Regions from separate parts of the Homo sapiens genome. Here region 2 is linked to region 1. Evidence: promoter capture Hi-C in 16 types of primary human blood cells and fetal thymus (Javierre and others, 2016). All regions are on one chromosome and are shown on one strand. The core of a region is centred on a gene start or on the middle of the fragment in contact, and the rest is flanking DNA. Distances in the headings are between cores, read along the strand shown.

Region 1 (4,246 bases), core at 1,183-3,682:
AAAGGAGCAGATTCTATCAGTTCTTCTGTGCAGACTTTAAGAGCTGAACGTTCTGGTTCTGGAAGCCATGTGACTGCGCAGAACAACCTAAGAAACCCTTTGTGTCCTGAGGGGTCGTTGACCTCTCCTTCCGGGTCGGAGCAGTCACTCTGAGGGCAAAGCGTGGTCCACTGTGTGTGATGTTTTCAGGATGCTAGGGTCAAAGAAAGAAACCAAGTGGTACATAAGCCCAGCTTTTCTGCTGGGCTAAGTGTAAGTGTGAGTAACATGGTCAAGCCCCTCTTTTTTGGGCTAATGTAAAGCCTTTCCTGCCTTGCATTAATGCTATCTCCCTGTGTACTGTTTCTCTTAAATGAGCAGATAGAAATCTGCAGTGTTGGCAGATAGGTGATGGAGAGGATGATAATTTTATCTTCTGGCCACAGAGCTGCAGCCCCAGTTGTCAGAGTCCTTAAATGAAACCCCCAAATCCATCCCTCCTTCCCTACCCCCACTGGAATATTCTAGAATAAGAGCACTGGATAAGTACACTTGAACACATTTTTCTAACCTTAGAAAATACCTACAAGGCCTGTTGTCTTGACCCATTACTCAATTGTCCCTGGCATATTATCTGATCTTCACGTTTCTTGGAAGCAGAATCATCAAGGCTTTCCTTTGTAACTGCCCTTTCCGTACACAGCAGGCATGAATAAATGCTGAGTAACAGACAAGTTACAGACAGGAGGGGAAAGAGGAGGAACCATACAACTGTTTTTGCAAAATGATGGCTGAGTCCAGATTATAGAGGTTGCCTTACCCTTAGAATGTTATTTAGACCAAGTTTAGCTTTTAGAGTCCAGGTCTGGTTAATTGCCAGGGTAGCAAAGAATCGCATGCACCAATGTAAACAGGAGTCAGAATGCATTATTAGTCAAAGATCGAATTTCACATTGTAGAGATGTATAGCTGTGATTAAGCTGCATATGTATGCTGGGAAACGGCTTGAGTGGATGGCTAATATAAAAGTTGTTGGCCATAATGCCACACCTCTCATCTGCTTGAAATATGGACCAGTATTCTAAAATATCAGCTACTGGGGTCTCATTCACTACAAGATAAATTCAAACTTCACAGAACTTTGCAGCAGTTCACCACCAGACGGGACTGTGTCTGCAAACTCTCTTGTCTTCACAGACGCCTAATAAAGCAAAACTCTGAATCTCATGTGGCCCAGATTTTTTTTCCCCCCATCCTGGGTTTGCAAACTGCATGATGGACACGTCAGTACTGATCTCCCTCTCTACCCCATCTCAGGTGGTGGAGAGAGAGTTTCAGTTTTTTCCAGGTGCTGTAAGTTTTCTTAAGTTATTCTAACAAGACTAGGCCCTTTGTTTGCTGGGAACCAAGGCCCCATCGATGGGCACAGAGCCCCTTTTCTCTGGAAGAAAGTGGTCTAGCCAGAGGGAGGGCAGGTAAGCAGAGTGACCACTGCCAATGCCACTGCACCCCAGTGTAAGTCATTAAAACATGCAGAAGGCCTGGCTGGGCTCTTGCCCCTGGGCATCCCAGCCGTCACGTGAAACTGGCTGTGTCCAGAGCCTACACCTGAGTCGCCCTCCACAGTTGGCTCTGAAAGCTTCCTGATGGCCCGAGGTATGTTCTAAATGGGGTGATAAAAGAGAGGTATAAATGGTGGTCGGCTCCACCAGCCTTCATTTGCAGTTCAATTTTCAGAAAAGTAGAGGTAGGGAAGGCCGGGAGGTGCAGCAAACAAGCGTGTCCTGGAAGTAGCGCAGCTTCAGCGTCATTTTCTGTAAAGGGAGCAGCCAGCACATGCTGGTTCATAGGGCGGACATCTTGGTGGGTTTCAATTCAATGAGAGGAAGTCTGGGTGTCCCTCCAAGAGTGATTAGAAAGAAGGATGACTCACCTTCCCCAGGTGGACAGCCACTCCTCTCTGCCTTCACCTGTCCCGGCCACCTGAAAATCTGCCCCTCCTAACAGGAGACAGGGAGGGAGGGGCTGCCAGGCCCAGGAAGCTCCTGTATTGGAGGCGCCAGGGCCCCCAGGCCTCGCCTCCTCCCGCCCACTGCCGGCCCCGCCCCCTGTTCCCGCCCACCCGCTTCCCCGGCCAGACCTGCAGACCCAGGCGCCGCAGTGTCTACACCCGCAAAAACGCCCGCTTTGACTTAGAGCCCTCCGCATATCCTTCCCCTGGCTGGGGCAGCCAAGGCGCGGAGGACAGCTCCGAGGCCAGATGTTTACTGCGCAGATGCCCGACTTTACACCGGGGTCCGGGCTGTGCCGGGCGCTGGGGGAAGCGCCCACCTTCCAGGTGGGACCGCGGGAAGGGTGGGGGAGGGGCAGGCTGGCGGTGGTGGGGCCTTTGTGCTCCACCGGGTGAGCGCACAAAGGCCTGGTGGAAGGCAGGGATCCTGGGCGGCCGGGCAGAGGCCAAGTGGGCACCGGATAGCGCCAGCCCCGCCCAGGTGAGCGCTGAGGTGGGATTGGAAGAGGGTGGCTAGGAGGGGCCCTACTTTCTACCCACTCCTAGCCCCCTTTCTCAGGACACCGCCTTTCTTCCCACCCTCCTCCCTGCCCACCTCCTCCAGGCAGGCTTATACCCCAGCTGATGCTTTTGGGCAACATATCCTGTCCCTGAGAGTTTAGAGGTCATCTGTTCGCACCCCCTTTCACTCTGGAACCCTGAAACCAGTTACCTAACCTCTCTGTGCCTTATTTTTCACATTTATAAAATGGGGGTTCCAACAGGAACTCATTCTTAGGGAAGCTGTGGGGATTAAAGGAGAATGCGGTTCTGCTGCAACCACATGGGGATAGCCAGTGTTCCCTGTCTGTTGCCTTTTTAAATTGGGGAATGGGTATAATATAGCATTTATATCATGGGGCTGTTGAGAGGATTAAACAAGCGTGGAAAGCTTTCAGAAAAGTAAGCAGGTGGTCAGTATGGGTGGGACATGGTCTCACAGCCAGGTCTGTCTGACTCCAGGCCCAGTGCTTCCTCCCAGGAGTCAGGTACGTGATGCCAGGGGTTAGAGTGGCCTAGACGCGGCACAGTCCTCACTGCTGTCAGCCTGGCGGGGGCTGAACTGTCTTAACAATCCCCATCATTGCTGACTAAGCCATGACTGTGGCCCTCTCCTCCACCCTGAATCCTCTTCTTCCAGCCTCAAAGGCATTTCTTTAAAGAGATGAACTGGCTCAGCAGGGCAGGACTTGGCAAGGCCTCAGCCCACTTGGGGGGAATGACCAGCGATACCCAAAGAGGGAAGGTGTCTTATTGCAGAAACAGCATCCACATAAACTGATGTTTCAGTGGAGCCCCCTGAAGCAGAGGGTGGCCTCTGCTTACCCTCCTTGGACTCCATGTCTGCCTTTTGGGACTTCCTGATTCCTTCAAGCCAGAATTTCTTCTCCCTTGTTTGTGTGTGTGTGTGTGTGTGTGTGTGTGTGTGTGTGTGCATGTGTGTGCCGGCGGGTGGGGGGAGGCTTCTGAGCATTGCAGGATGTTCAGTAGCATCCCATCCCCCACTTCTGACAGCCAAATATGCCTCTGGACATTGCCAGATGTTCCAGGGGTAATGGTGGGGGCTGGCAAAAATCACCACTGCAACCTGATTTCACCTGGATCAAGAAGGAGGTCTGGGGGTGTGCGGGCCTCATCTCTCTCCTCACCTGAGGCTCATGAACCTAACACAGGGGCTTCTGGGCTTGCTCAGAAGCTTTGCATTCCCAGCCTCTATCATGTTTCACAGCCATAGTATGAGTACAGTTCACAATTGTTGGATGGCTGGAGGTCGGATGGAGGGGAGAGGAGACCCTGGTAGGTGTGATCTACACACTGTTATCCAAGTTAACATAAAAGGTGATGGGCCCTTGGTAATAGGTCATTGGTTTGTGACTGAAGCCAGCTGTGTCTCTGGCTTTGGGTAAGGTGGTAGTGCTGCCTCTCAGCCCCAACTCCTGGCAGTCATTCTTCCACTCCCAAGAGCTTGTGCACACTCAATAGTAATTCCTTAAGGCAGTGACTTTTGATGAGACCGTTTCATTCCCTCTTCCCTCCACTAACAGAGAGCGAAATCATGGAGCCTTCCAAGACCTTCATGAGAAACCTGCCAATCACACCAGGCTATAGCGGTAAGTGTGGACGTACCCTGCAGCTGTGCCTGGCAGGGGAACCCGGGTCCTGGTCACTGTCCCTGCCTTGACCCACTGTCTGTGTCTGTGCAGCCAACTGGACCAG
Region 2 (4,246 bases), core at 580-3,079, 520 kb before region 1:
AACAATTCAGCTGGAATCTGAAGAATGAGGAGGAGCTTCCTGCAACACTGGGTGGAGGGCAAAGGGAAGAGCATGCTAGGCAGAGGAAACAGCAGGTGCAACTGCACCGAGGCAAGAAGGAAAGGGGATGTAGATGCATTGCAGGAGTGAACAGAAAGCTCTGGAACACAGAAGAGACAGTGTTAGTTGAGATTGGGTAGATAGGCAAGGCCAGATGGTGTGGGACCTTGCCCATGTTTACTGTTTTGTTGTGCATTAGAACCGGGCTTTCAACTGAGGTCTGACTTCAAAGCCACCCTTTCTTTCTCAATCCAGATGGATGATTGCCTCATTAAGTCATCAGCAGTGACTAACGTTGCAGTCACTGATTTAATTTGGTCCATGTGGGCACCTGGCTGTGGTAGCCTTTGAAGCTTCCTAAGGTAGCCTTGATGAGCAGTCAAGGATGAGAACCACTGGTCCAGTGGGGTCCTTGGCTGAAACCATAACCCATCAATTTTATTGCTAGCACATTTTGAGAGTGTTCTAAGCTAAACACTTTACATGTATGATGTAATTTTCTACCTTGCTAAGGAGGTTATTATTTCCATTTTACTGATGAAGAGATTGAGGCTCAGAGAGGTTAAGTAACTTGCCCAAGGTCACATGGCCAGTAAACAGCAGAAGCGTACGCTGGGGAGATTACCCAGAAACTCTGTTCCTTTCTGTCCTTCCAACATCCTACTTACTCATGGCTGTACAGCTCCTCCTTGATCTGACTTAGCTTGAAAGATCATTTTGTACCAAGAAGTTGGTTGGTCCCAAACAAAGGTTTTCCAGGAAACCCCTAGTCTTCTAATACCCCTCAGTGAAAGCAACAGAAAGGCCCCAAACCAAATCAGTTGATCAATTGTTTCCTTTCCTAGACCCAGGCTCTGACTTATCCTCCCAAACAGTGGCTCCCAACGTTTTTGGCACCAGGGACCAGTTTCGTGGAAGAAAATTTTCCCATGGGCCACAGAGGGGATGGTTTTGGGATGATTCAAGCATGTTACATTCATTGTGCCCTTTATTTCTATTAATATTACATTGTAATATATGATGAAATAGTTATACAACTTATAATGTAGAATCAGTGGGAGCCCTGAGCTTGTTTTCCTGCAACTAGACAGTCCCATCTGGGGGTGATGGGAGATAGTGACAGATCACCAGGCATTAGATTCTCATAAGGAGCAGGCAACCTAGATCCCTTGCATGCACAGTTCACAATAGGGTTTGTGCTCCTATGAGAATGTAATGCCACCTCTGACCTGACAGGAGGCAGAGCTCAGGCAGTAATGTGAGCAATGGGGAGTGGCTGTAGATGGAGACAAAGCTTTGCTTGCTCACCCGCTGCTCACCCCCTGCGCCCTGTTCCTAACAGTACCAGTCCATTGCCTGGGGGTTGGGGACCCCTGCTCCAGAACCCTGCCTGTGTTTATTAGGGAGAAGTTAGAAAGTTCTTTGATCTGGCCAGGCGTGGTGGTTCACGTATGTAATCCCAGCACTTTGGGAGGCTGAGGTGGGCAGATCATGATATCAGGAGATCGAGACCATCCTGGCTAACACAGTGAAACCCCGTCTCTACTAAAAATACAAAAATTAGCCGGGCGTGGTGGCGGGTGCCTGTAGTCCCAGCTACTCAGGAGGCTGAGGCAGGAGAATGGTGTGAACCCGGGAGGCGGAGCTTGCAGTCAGCCGAGATCGCGCCACTGCACTCTAGCCTGAGTGACGGAGTGAGACTCCATCTCGAGAAAATAAGAATAAAAAGTTTTTTTGATCCTATGTAAGCCGTGGAACTGTGCCTCCTCTATGGCGGTGGTTCCCCTCAGGCCAGGCCCAAGGCCAGCATTGGGCCTGCTCCAAGGGCTCACCAGTCCCTCAGACTTCCCAGAGGAGAACGTCTAGCCTTGACCACCATCTGTCACCAGATTGAGCACAGTGCTGCTCAAGGCTTTCTGTCTCCACCATCTGAGAGGAAGATGAGGCTGCAATGTACAGGCTCCTCAGGGCCATTCATAAGATGGAAATCTGGGATGCCTGCCACATAGGCCCTGAAAAATGACACTTGATTTTTATCCAAAAACCAAACCAAAAACCAGAACGAACAACCCATGCAAAAACTCCAAAAGGCTGTTGTGGTGGAATGAGAAGAAAGAAGACCTGGCCTCCAAGACCAGGCTCTGCCACTACCTAGCTGTGCAGCCTTGGGCAAATTGCTTAGCCTCTCTGAGCTTGTATCTCTTTCTGTAAAATAGCTATGATGACACCCATCTCAAAAGCTTGTCTTAACTTGCTTAGCACAAGGACTAGCATATCCGAAGTCCAAATACATGATTGCTCATTCATTACTTTTGCCAGCATGGTGGCCTGCACTCATTATGTGTTTGTTGGTTGTGTTTCAAAAGTATCCTAAGAAAAAACTGAATAGGTATGGTTTTGTCATAATATGGATCAAAGACGTTTGCGGCTTGCCTGAAAACCCTGACATGATCTTAATAACTTAGGTCACAAGTAAACAATTTATTACCATGACAAGCACAAGCCACAGCTACCACTTATTGAACACATACTGGGTGCCAGGAGATATGCTAGTGCTCCACATGCATTATCTCATTTAATCTTCACAGTAAATGAAGAATTGAATGCATCAGACCTCAGTAGAGGAAATAATCTACTCTGGGTGTTTCAGCAGGAAGGGATTTAAAATGGGATACTATGTGCTTTCAAACACTGCAAAGCCCAAAGGAGCAGGTTCTCAGCTGGTCCTGCAGGCTCGACACCCAGAACAGTGCAGACCTGGTTCTCCAGGAGAGCTGCTACCTCAGAGGCTGGCGCTGGAACCACTGAGTTTACGAGGACACGCAGCGGTAGCGGCAGCGGCAGCGGCAGCGCAGTCAGGAGGCTGGAGAACATGTCTTGTGTCTTGAAGCACAGTCCTGAAGAAGCACCTTACCTCTGTGACCCCGCTTGCCAGCAGAGAAATGTCCCAAAGGGATGGGAAAAACATCTTTACTGCACTTCTGCTTTCCAAATCTTGCAGAAAGACATCTACTTTGAATCCAAAACCTAATTGCATTTGTTGTCTAGAATCTAATCTAATTTGCATCCAGAATCCTAACAGCTAAGGAGACTGGGAAATACAGTACTTAAATTTCCAGCCTCTACTGGAAAGAATGGTATGCATCTTGAGTAAGTCAGTAGTGCCATAGATGCCATTGTTATTCCCATTTTAGAGAGGAGGAAATGGACTCTGAGACTAGGACAGGTCATCTTTGCCCTGAGTGAATGAGCAAATCCATTCAATGGCTGGGGGAAGTCACTGAACAATCAATTTTGACCTCAAGTTCAAATCACTTCCTCAGATCCAACTTTATCAGCAATAAAGCTGATGTAGGGCCCCTCTTCAACATGTGTGTCTATTTCCCAATTGGTGTGGAACCTGTAGGAGGGAAGGGATGGGACTTTCAAACCTCAAAATTCTAGAATAAAAATAGCCACCACCGCCAGAACAAGAAGTGTCGTACCCTTTGGACTTAGACAGTGCTTTAAAGTTCCTAAGGCATTTTACATGTATTTTATCTTTAAGTTCTCCTCACTCTGTCCTCCTCCAACCAGGATAATTAACAGCAGGCTGCAGGAAGTCATTTCTAGAAGGAGAATTTATTAAAGCCCTTGCCAAAGGCTCAGAGATGTGAGTTTCCATCAGCAAGGGTAGTGATTTCAGCGGCCATCTTAGGATGTCCTGTTTCCTTTGGTGGGATTATGGTCAGTTGTGCCCTCAAGATCAGTTCTTCCCTTCTTCCTGTGCAACGGACATCTGCTAGAGGCTACAGCTGGCAGCTGACTTTGTGGCTGGGTGTGGCTATGACAAAGTGGTCATCAACTGGATGTAACAGAAGTGGTGTTTGCCTTTACACCTCACTGGCTTAAAAGAAAATTGATTGACCTGGACTTCCTCTCTTTCCCTTTTCCTTGAGCTAGAACAGAGGTGTGCCTGAGATTCCAGTCTTACCATACAGATGAAGATAATGCCTGAGACTCACCTGGAAGGCTTGGTCAGATAGCTGGGTCCCACCCCTAGTGTTTCCAATTCAGTAGGTCTGGCATGGGGCCTGGGAACTTCCATTTCTGACAAGTTCCAAGATGATGTTCATGCTATCAGTCCAGGGACCACACTTGGAAAAACCACTGCCCTGGAACATAAAAGGGAAACAAATGGAAGACC

Evidence for each region. Contacts are between HindIII fragments. The CHiCAGO score rates a contact against its expected background, and 5 or more counts as called.
Region 2: a contact is called between a fragment that was not itself captured here and the fragment with the promoter of SPMIP5 in region 1, in 5 of 17 cell types (naive CD4 T cells, naive CD8 T cells, M0 macrophages and 2 more). The highest score is 7.4, in naive CD4 T cells.

The regions. Positions count from the first base shown.
Region 1 is chr10:116,668,152-116,672,397 of GRCh38, reverse strand. It overlaps SPMIP5 (sperm microtubule inner protein 5), which reads left to right and starts at 2,432. Exons shown (of 6, transcript NM_001350931.2): 1 at 2,432-2,471; 2 at 4,075-4,140. The coding sequence starts at 4,086. HSPA12A (heat shock protein family A (Hsp70) member 12A) reads left to right here. Exons shown (of 12, transcript NM_025015.3): 12 at 1-1,206. HSPA12A-AS1 (HSPA12A antisense RNA 1) reads right to left here and starts at 2,343. Exons shown (of 3, transcript NR_187551.1): 1 at 2,120-2,343; 2 at 1,913-2,004; 3 at 1-193. The HindIII fragment of the contact is 1,303 bases long and covers 1,621-2,923 here.
Region 2 is chr10:117,183,102-117,187,347 of GRCh38, reverse strand. No RefSeq gene overlaps it. Among named protein-coding and RNA genes, the nearest start is that of KCNK18, 12 kb to the left of the region's middle. The HindIII fragment of the contact is 946 bases long and covers 1,357-2,302 here.